Linked DNA regions of Homo sapiens: regions 1 and 2 are each linked to region 3. Evidence: promoter capture Hi-C in human tissues and cell types (Jung and others, 2019). All regions are on one chromosome and are shown on one strand. The core of a region is centred on a gene start or on the middle of the fragment in contact, and the rest is flanking DNA. Distances in the headings are between cores, read along the strand shown.

Region 1 (2,845 bases), core at 53-2,552, 770 kb before region 3:
TACCTGACCTCAAAGAGCTCACAATGTGTCAAGAGTTAAGACCTCTAATACAGGAGATACCCAAGGCAGTGTGAGTCGACTCACATGTGCGAGGCACACACAGATGTCGGCGGAAACTTTGGAGGCATGAACAAAGCTCCCAGAGGAGGGGCGCTGAAGGGTGGGGGGTGGGGCGTGGGGGAGTGCAGGTTGGAGAAGACCTTGAATGTCAGGCTAAGCAGTTGGGACTTCACTTCATAGGTAGTAGAGGGCCGTTGAACGTTTTTGAGCTGCCTGAACGATCCAAATTTCCTATAGAAGTTTACAGAACTCCTGAGGATGGGCTCTGCCTAACGCCCACTCCCCCGAGAATACTCTCCTTCCATCCCTCACACTTAGCTGCAGCCAGCACTGAACTTAATGCCATACTCTGAAACGTCCTTCACAGTCTCTGTACTCCTGGCTACGTTCTTTCCTTATATCGGGTCTCAATGTTAACAAACATCACTCCCTCTAAAAAGCCTTGCGGACACCGCCCTTTTCCCCCAAGCCTGGCCAGAGGCCCCTTTTCAAGGCTCCCACGCTTGCTGTGTCTCCCCATGAGATCACGGCTCTGTGCTGTCATTATTCATTTGTCTGAATTCTCTGCTAGACTGTGATTCTGTTGAGGCTAGGAGCGGTATCTTGTCCATCAGTGTCGCTAAGAACCAGCATTAGACAGTAATGTGGGATGGATGCGGCCCAGCAGATTACTCGGGTTCCTCCCCTTTCTCTGCCAGGGAGTCTTTTGAGGACAATGGAAAATCACAGGTGTCAACAGATGCAGGCTGGTAGGGAATGTCCCCTTAATTTGAATGATCAGTCTATTATTCTTACAGGAAGCAAAGTGTGCAGAAGACACAAAACAAACTCCAACCTCCTCCCACCTCCTTGAGAATAAAGCGAAGCGGGGACCATTTCTAGGCACGCCTGAGGACTATTTGAGGAGGGTGAGGCGGAGGGTTACGCACGGGACTAAGGCAAAACCCTCCGCTCGAGAGCAGAAATCGCGGCGGCACCTCTTCAGGCCACCAGGGGGAGGAATCACACCGCATCCCAGGCCTTGGGCGGTTTCGCACGACCACGCGGGGCTGGACGGTCGCGTAGAACTCTGGGAGGTGTAGTTTTAGAGTTGTAATGCGCAATCTCGCGCACTGTACATCGGGAATTGTAGTTCTAGATTGAGGAACGAGAAGTGCTTCCAAGCGTCCATTTTGAGCCTTGGAAACTACGACGACCAAAGGGCCACGGGTTCATGGGTCGTTTCTCATTTCCGTCGAGTTAAACGTCTGGGGCTGCTTCTGAGGAATCAGCTTGACTGGGTAAGTTTGATTGGAGAAAACACCTATATCTCAATTGAGCTTCCTGCAGACTTTTGTATTCTGGCCCGGTTTGGGGCCTCGGCGTCTCTCAGTCATAGGAATTGCACATTAATCTTCGTCCTTTACGTTTCCTATTCAGACACCTGTAGCCACCCGCTCCCTTGACCCTCCCACGGTCGCCTCGCACTTTTAACGGCCAGTGCCCCTGGAATCCCCACTGAGCTCCCGTCCCAGGACCCAGCCCCCGCAGCCCCACCTTGGACCCCACAGCCCTACCCTGATTCCTCGGCCCTACCTTCACCCTGCAGCCTCACATCCCTGAACCCCGGGCTTCTTTATGCTCCTCCACCCTTTGTGTACTTTACTCTTACTCTCAGTTTTCTGTTTTTCATGGCGGTGGAAGAAGGGTCCCCATTCCTTCTTTCCGATCCGCGATTACCCTGGACTCGAAGTCAGCAGACCCGGTTCTAGGCCAGCTCTGCCTCTCACCCTCTGTGACCTTGGGCAAATCATACAACTCTGGGACTCAGTTTCTTCCTCTCTAAAACGGAGATGACTGTTGCTCCATCAGTCTCAGGTGAGGAGTGTTGAGGAGCCAACAAGCTAGTATGTGTGAAGATGCCTTGTAAACTGTAAGACCTTCACAAGAGACAGAGATTATTTTTATCACAATTATTAATGCTCTGGAACACTCTTATCAGGCCTCTTCTCTAGCTCTGCCACCTTGTTGCTCAATCTCATCCCTCGAGTGCTTGGTGTCTTCATTGTCTACGAGCTGGATGATATTTCCTCACTTCCTCCAGAGACCAAAGGTCAGGCCAATGAGCTTTTAGTCTTCAGAGAGCTTTGTCTGAAAGGAAGCACAAGAGAAGTGCTTATCTTGGACTGTATCTTGAAATAGCCAGTGATGAAAGTGTCACACAGCTGGCAGAGCAGCAGTCCTCTGCTCACCAGAAACAGGGTCCCAGCAGGAGAGGACAGCTGCAACCTAAGCCCCATCCATTCCCTCTGGGCTCCTCTGGGCCTGTTCAGTAGACACTGGCTTTGGTAGGGGTGTCTGAGGCCTGAAAAGGCTGCTGGGAAAGAATCTGTTTTGCCAAAGGGCTTAATCCAGGAAAAATGAGAGACCTTGGCTAGGAAAGAGAGACATAGCATTGTTAATTAGTTCCTAACATTTTATAAGCACTGAAAATGCACCAGGCCCTAGGCAATATTTTCACTTACGAAGTATCCATTTTACGTATAAGGAACTTGAGAGGCATGTAGTTAAAATAATTATAGTTGCCTCCTATGGTTATAGTACCTTCTATCCATCGAGTGCTTTACATGCATTATTTAATCCTCATCAACAATCTCGTGAGTAGTTACTATTTCTTTTTTTTTGAGATGGAGTCTCGCTCTGTCGCCCAGGCTAGAGTGCAGTAGCGCGATCTCGGCTCACTGCAAGCTCCGCCTCCCGGGTTCACGCCATTCTCCTGCTTCAGCCTCCCAAGTAGCTGGGACTA
Region 2 (2,852 bases), core at 6-2,505, 540 kb before region 3:
GGAATGGGTACTGCGAGGCAGACACAGCCTGCGACTTGGAGGAAACCAGGGCTGTCTAGAGAGCGCTCATCCTGCACAAAAGTGCACGGGCTCATCCGGCGGGTGCTATAAATCACCTCGCCTTAGCAGGCTGGGGACGGCAGGGCCTCTGGTTATTAACTGTAAGTGAGTTGCATTTCTTTACAAAGATAATCTGGTGGCAGGGAGTTCAGAGATTTTTATTACCCAGTGACAAACATGATAATTAATGCTGGGTAGCTTCATAAAAGGCCACGGGAAAGAGGAAGAAAAACCTTAATTTAGCTGGCCAAGCCCTCAAGTAGAGCCACTCTGGAAAAACAGAGTTTAAATTTAGCAAATTGAGATAAATGGAGTTCAAAGGAGCGGGAAAGAGAAGAATTGAGTTGGAACACCCCCTCTCTGCCCTGGTGGCCTCTGCCTGCTGGACAGTGGGCCAGCCAAGGAGCAGGGCCTCACAGGCTGTGGCTGAACCAGAGGTCTCTCCACCCAGGGCCGTCCCAGGAGGAAGACGGGTTGCCCGAGGAACACTTCACCGCAGACGCAAGACAGAAAACACTTCGCTCCCAGGCTTTGAAAATTAACAACAGGGAAACGTAAAGGCATTTGATAGATTTAACAAAGAACAAACCAGTTCTGTGTTCTGATTCACTTAAGCAGAGAGACAGAGAGAAGAAAGAAAATGGGGGTGGACTGAAGGCGGGGCGGGGGGAATGGGCAGAGTGTTTTCAACTCCTCAGCAGAAGAAGGGGGCAGACAGAGAGGGGAGAAGGAAAGTGGGCGGGGGGAAGAGGGACAGAAAGAGAGAACACGTCAACAGCTACCATTTATTGTGGGCCAGGAGCCTCAATGTATTATTTATAACTTAATCTTCCTGGGCACCCTGCAAGGCAGGTGCTATCGGCCCCATTTCCCAGGTGGGAGAACGGCAACTGGGCCTAAATGGCTCATCCAAGACCATCAAGCTGGTGAAAGGCAGAGCCTCACCTTCCACAGCTGCACAAAGTCAACCAGAGAGTGAAGACAGAGATACGTAGAGAAAGAAAGACAAATGTGAGGACCAAGGGACCAAAAGACAGGGCAAAGACAGATGGGACCCAGGAATGGGGGTCGAGAGGAGGCCAGCCACATGGTACACTCGCCCTTCCGGCCCCCTCCAGCCCTGATCCAGAAATAAGTCCTGGCCCAGCAAGTGTTCCAGAGCGGACCAGCATCTGCAAAAATTGGAACAGACAAGATGAAGCATGTGCTTTGGGGAGGAGCTGGAAAGGGCTGGGGTGGGCTGGACTATGCTCTGGTGTGGAGGGAAGAGAGAAGTGGCACCTCTCTCCTTCCTAGGTGCCCCACAGAAGAGAAGGGCTGGGCCAGGCCTGGCATGTTGAGGAGGGGCAGGTCTGTTGCAGAGGAGGGGCCGGGGAGGCTGGAAGTCATGGGTTGTCCTCTGCTCAGAGCCCTTCTCCAGCCCCGTCATGGGCACGGCAGCTACGAGCACTGTCACCTCTCGGTGTGGCGCACCCTCCCCACCTCATTCCCCACGCGGGGGCTCAGGCATTCTCACAAGCCTGCTCCCGGTCCCTCCCCATAGGGTGGCCACGGGGATTAAGTGAAACAAGGCCAGGCACCATCTGAAGCCCTCGGCGGCAGCACTCCCCTTGGGTGGTGGGCCCCCCTTGCCATCGGGTGCCCGCCGGGTGTGCGATGAGTGCCTGCGTACGGGTCTGCCTCCCTCACTAGCTCGTGGGCTCTTTGTGGGGAGGGATTGCATGCGACTCCCGCTCTGTGCCCAGTAACTACACGGCGCACAGAGATGCCCATGGAGTGCTGAGCAGGTGAATGGAAGGGAGGCCTGGGCTCTGCCGGGATGGGAGGCTTGGGCTGTGCCAGGAAGGGCCTGGAATGCCAAGCCAAGGAGTTTAGCCACAATCACGCGGTGGTGGAGTGTGTGCGTGACAAGGTCCAGGCTTCCTCTGGAGGGGCACGCAGGGGAGGGAGCCAGGTCATTAGGGTCCGCGGTGTTGAGATGCAGCTGCCTCTCAGGGGCACTTATGTGGGCATCTCACATGTGAAAGTCCCACTGCTTTACAGCTTGTGTGTGTGTGTGTGTGTATGTATGTATGGGGTGTGGGGTGAGTGTGTATGTGTGGTGAATGAATGTGTGTGGTGTATGTAGGTGTATGGGGGCGTGTGTGTGTGCTGAGGGGTATGGGTGTGTGGATGTGTGTGTAGGGAGAGTGTGTGTGTGTCAAGGAGTGTGGTGTGTAGTGTATGAGGGGACTATGTGTAGTGTGTGGGGTGTGTGCATGAGGCGAGTGTGTGTAATGTGTGGGGTGTGTGTGTGGAATGTGTGAGGGGAGTGTGTAGTGTGTGAAGGGAGTGTGTGGTGTGTGTGTGGGAGGGAGTGTGGGTGATAGGTGTGTGTGTGGGAGTGTGGGTGGTGTGTAGTGTGTGTGGGAGTGTGGGTGGTGTGTAGTGTGTGTGCCTGAGGGGAGTGTGTAGTGTATGTATATGTGAGGGGAGTGTGTGTAGTGTGGGGGTGTGTGTAGGGGAAGTGTGTGTGTGTAGTGTGTAAGGGGAGTGTGTATGTGAGGAAAGTGTGTGTAATATGTGTGTGGTGTGTGTGAGGGGAGTGTGTGTAGGGAGAGTGTATGTAATGTGTGTGGTGTGTGTGAGGGGAGTGTGGATATGTGTGAGCGCAGTGTGTGTAATGTGTGTATGTGTGAGGGGAGTGTGGATGTATGTGAGGGGACTGTGGGTGTGTGAGGGGAGTGTATGTAGGGGGAGTGTATGTAGTGTGTGTGTGTTAAGGGAGCGTGGATGTATGTGAGGGGTGTGTG
Region 3 (2,910 bases), core at 281-2,780:
TGGCCAGGCACAGTGGCTCATGCCTGTAATCCCGGCACTTTGGGAGGCTGAGGTGGGCAGATCATGAGGTCAGGAGTTCGAGACCAGCCTGGCCAACATGGTGAAACCCTATCTCTACTAAAAATACAAAAATTAGCTGGGCATGGTGGCAGGCACCCGTAATCCCAGCTACTCGGGAAGCTGAGGCAGGAGAATCGTCTGAACCCGGGAGCCGGACGTTGCAGTAAGCCGAGATCGGTGCCACTGCACTCCAGCCTGGGTGATAGTGCAAGACTCTGTCTCAAAACAAAAAAACAAAAAAAAATTACTTTTATTTTTTAATTTAGAGACTGATTCTTACTTTGTTGTCCAGGCTGGTCTTGAACTCCTGGGCTCAAGCAATCCTCCCGCCTCCGCCCCGCAATGTGCTGGGATTGCAGCCATGAACCACCACACCAGGCCAAGGGCAAGACCTGCTTCTTGGAGAAAGTGACAACACCTTAAGCTCTAAATGGAAAGAACTTTCCACTCATGGGAATGAATGGCACTGCAGGTTTTTCCTGCTTACTGCAGACAAAACCAATTCACTGAAAAGTGCTACTGCAGTATACAGTTGTATTAACCTGAGGCTGGCCTCAGGGAAGAAGGGTTACCACTCAAGTAAGTTTTCCTGAAGGGTCAGCTCAGAGGTTAGGGTATTTCATAGTTTGGTGTGGGCAGGGCACTAGGGAATGGATGCTGCTGATTGGTTGGAGATGCAATCACAGGGGTGTGGACTACACTCCTCAACAGCTGAGTCCGCCTCTTGGGGGAGGAGTGGGACAGAAGAAGCGGTTGGGTCATGGGTCACGAGTCTGGGTGGGGTCAGTTAGTTGCCAGAATGCGAAAGTCTGAAAAATGCCTCAAAAGACCAATCTTAGGTGCTACGATAACGTTATCTACAGGAATAATTGGGGAAGTTACACATCCGATGTCCTCCGAAACAATGGCTGGTTATCGTTTACTACATTTTAGCAGAATTCTCCCCTCATAATCCTAACCTCCCGGTCTTTCATTAGTTTTATAAAGGCAGTTTCAGCCCCCAAACAAGGAGGGGCCCTGTTTAAGGAAGGGACTATGATCATCCTTGCTTAAAAGTTAAACTATAAATTCTCCCATGGTTAGCTTGGTTTATGCCCAGGAATGAGCGAAGACAGCCGGCCTGCGAGGCTAGAAGCAAGATGGAGTGAGCCATGTTAGATTTCTCTCACTGTCTTTGCAAAGGCGGTTTCCAGGAACAGCGTGCAGAATAGGGGGCTATCAGGCTCCTTTTGGTCATTTCTTCCTAGCCGTCCGATTCTGAGCTCTTCCCAACCCTTTTCTTGGCGACTTACCTCCCGCTGTCCTGGCCCACGCTACTTTTCGCGGCTGCGCAAGACCCTACGCAATCCAAAATATTTCATAGCTAAAAGGGTCCCAACTTCCGGAGACCTCCCGGAAGGGGCGGGGCTTATGGTAGCCCATTCGTACGTATCGGCCCGTTTGTCTGAAGGTTGACGGAAGTGCTCTATCTTGTTGCCGGAAGTGGGAAGAGAGAAAGGTTGTGATGGCGGCTATAGCTGCATCCGAGGTGAGTTCCACCCACCGTACACCGGGGGTTTTGTTGGTGAGGGTTCCGGGGAGCGGCCTGGAGAGAGGTGGAGGCGAAGTCTAGTTTCGCTTCAGGGAGGCTCAGACACTGTGGGGTCAAGTCGGCGGTGGAGGCCCTAGGCCCAGCCTGTGGGGACCGGCGGGGACTCGGCCTGGGCAGTCCTGGGAGAAGCTGAGCCGGCTCTGCCTGAAGCCAGTTCTCCTTGTCGCAGGTGCTGGTGGACAGCGCGGAGGAGGGGTCCCTCGCTGCGGCGGCGGAGCTGGCCGCTCAGAAGCGCGAACAGAGACTGCGCAAATTCCGGGAGCTGCACCTGATGCGGGTGAGTAGTCTTGGAGGCCGGCTTAGATCCGTCATCTGGCCAAGCCTGTGCGCTTTTGTAGAGGGGACGAGGAAGCCACACCACTGCGTCTGACAGACCAACAGAGCAGGATCATCTGAGAGGAAAGCTCTGTTCGGTGGTACTCAACCCTGGCAGCACATTGGGATCATTCTGAGAACATTTGAAAATATAACTGTTCACTCCAGCCCCTCTCCCACCCACATCCAATTTAATGTATCTGGGTTAGGTTTGGGAGTCTCCATTACTAACAACCTCCCTGCTCCGTGATTCCAACAAATTCTTCATTTTACCTAGGGAAATATGTAGAGCTAGAGACAGGAAGAAACTTGTCTAGTGTCAGTAAGAGACCTGGTTCACTTTAAAAAATAATAATCTTCTGTCAGAATCTGTTTGAGTGAAAAGAAAATAATCATCTGTTTTTGGGACTTCTGGGGGAAAAGAATAAAAAGAAAATAAAAAAAATGGCAAACTTTTGAAAGTCTACAGTGTGGTAGTTCAGCCAGTTGATAGGGAATCTGATGTTTAAGTGCCCTGGAGGTGCAGAGGAGGAGAGAGGAATGCAGTTTGTGGGTCTCCAGGGGGTGCCTCATGTAGTAGGTGACACCTAAACTACTGTTTGAAAGCCAGACAACTAAAGGAGTTAGAGAAAGAGATATCCAAGCAAAGGGAACAAATTCAAAGAAAGAGAATTTGTATTAGGGATAAGAGTCCAGCAAATAGCTTGCTGCAGTTGGAGCAGAGAAAGAGAAAAGCAGCCCCTGTTTCACCATGGAGTGACCTGACAGCTAGGCCATGGTTTCACAAAATCCCAAAATCACTCTGACTGTTGTAGTGAGACAAAACAAAGAAGACTTTTCAAATTACAAGAATGACCACATATTTCTTTCTTCTGACTAACACCAGTGACTGTTATTAACAAATACAGCATTAGTCTCACTCCGTTACTTCTGCCTCCTATATA

Evidence for each region. The method cuts DNA at HindIII sites, captures the fragments that hold promoters and counts their contacts. A contact is called where the count stands out against the background at its distance.
Region 1: a contact is called between the fragment with the promoter of PAFAH2 here and the fragment with the promoter of SYF2 in region 3, in 1 of the 25 tissues and cell types used here (heart left ventricle).
Region 2: a fragment that was not itself captured here is called in contact with the fragment with the promoter of SYF2 in region 3 in 1 of the 25 tissues and cell types used here (aorta).

What each region holds. Positions count from the first base shown.
Region 1 is chr1:25,996,520-25,999,364 of GRCh38, reverse strand. PAFAH2 (platelet activating factor acetylhydrolase 2) reads left to right here and starts at 1,302. Exons shown (of 11, transcript NM_000437.4): 1 at 1,302-1,340. RefSeq lists enhancers at 1,157-1,206, 1,217-1,306, 1,477-1,556. The HindIII fragment of the contact is 6,472 bases long and covers 1-2,845 here.
Region 2 is chr1:25,768,663-25,771,514 of GRCh38, reverse strand. All of the region lies in intron 7 of MAN1C1 (mannosidase alpha class 1C member 1), which reads right to left. Among named protein-coding and RNA genes, the nearest start is that of SELENON, 30 kb to the left of the region's middle. The HindIII fragment of the contact is 8,181 bases long and covers 1-2,852 here.
Region 3 is chr1:25,231,122-25,234,031 of GRCh38, reverse strand. SYF2 (SYF2 pre-mRNA splicing factor) reads left to right here and starts at 1,530. Exons shown (of 7, transcript NM_015484.5): 1 at 1,530-1,588; 2 at 1,821-1,928. The coding sequence starts at 1,565. LOC124903881 (a long non-coding RNA gene) reads right to left here and starts at 1,443. Exons shown (of 2, transcript XR_007065555.1): 1 at 1,353-1,443. RefSeq lists enhancers at 1,073-1,322, 507-1,420, 1,563-1,712. The HindIII fragment of the contact is 38,585 bases long and covers 1-2,910 here.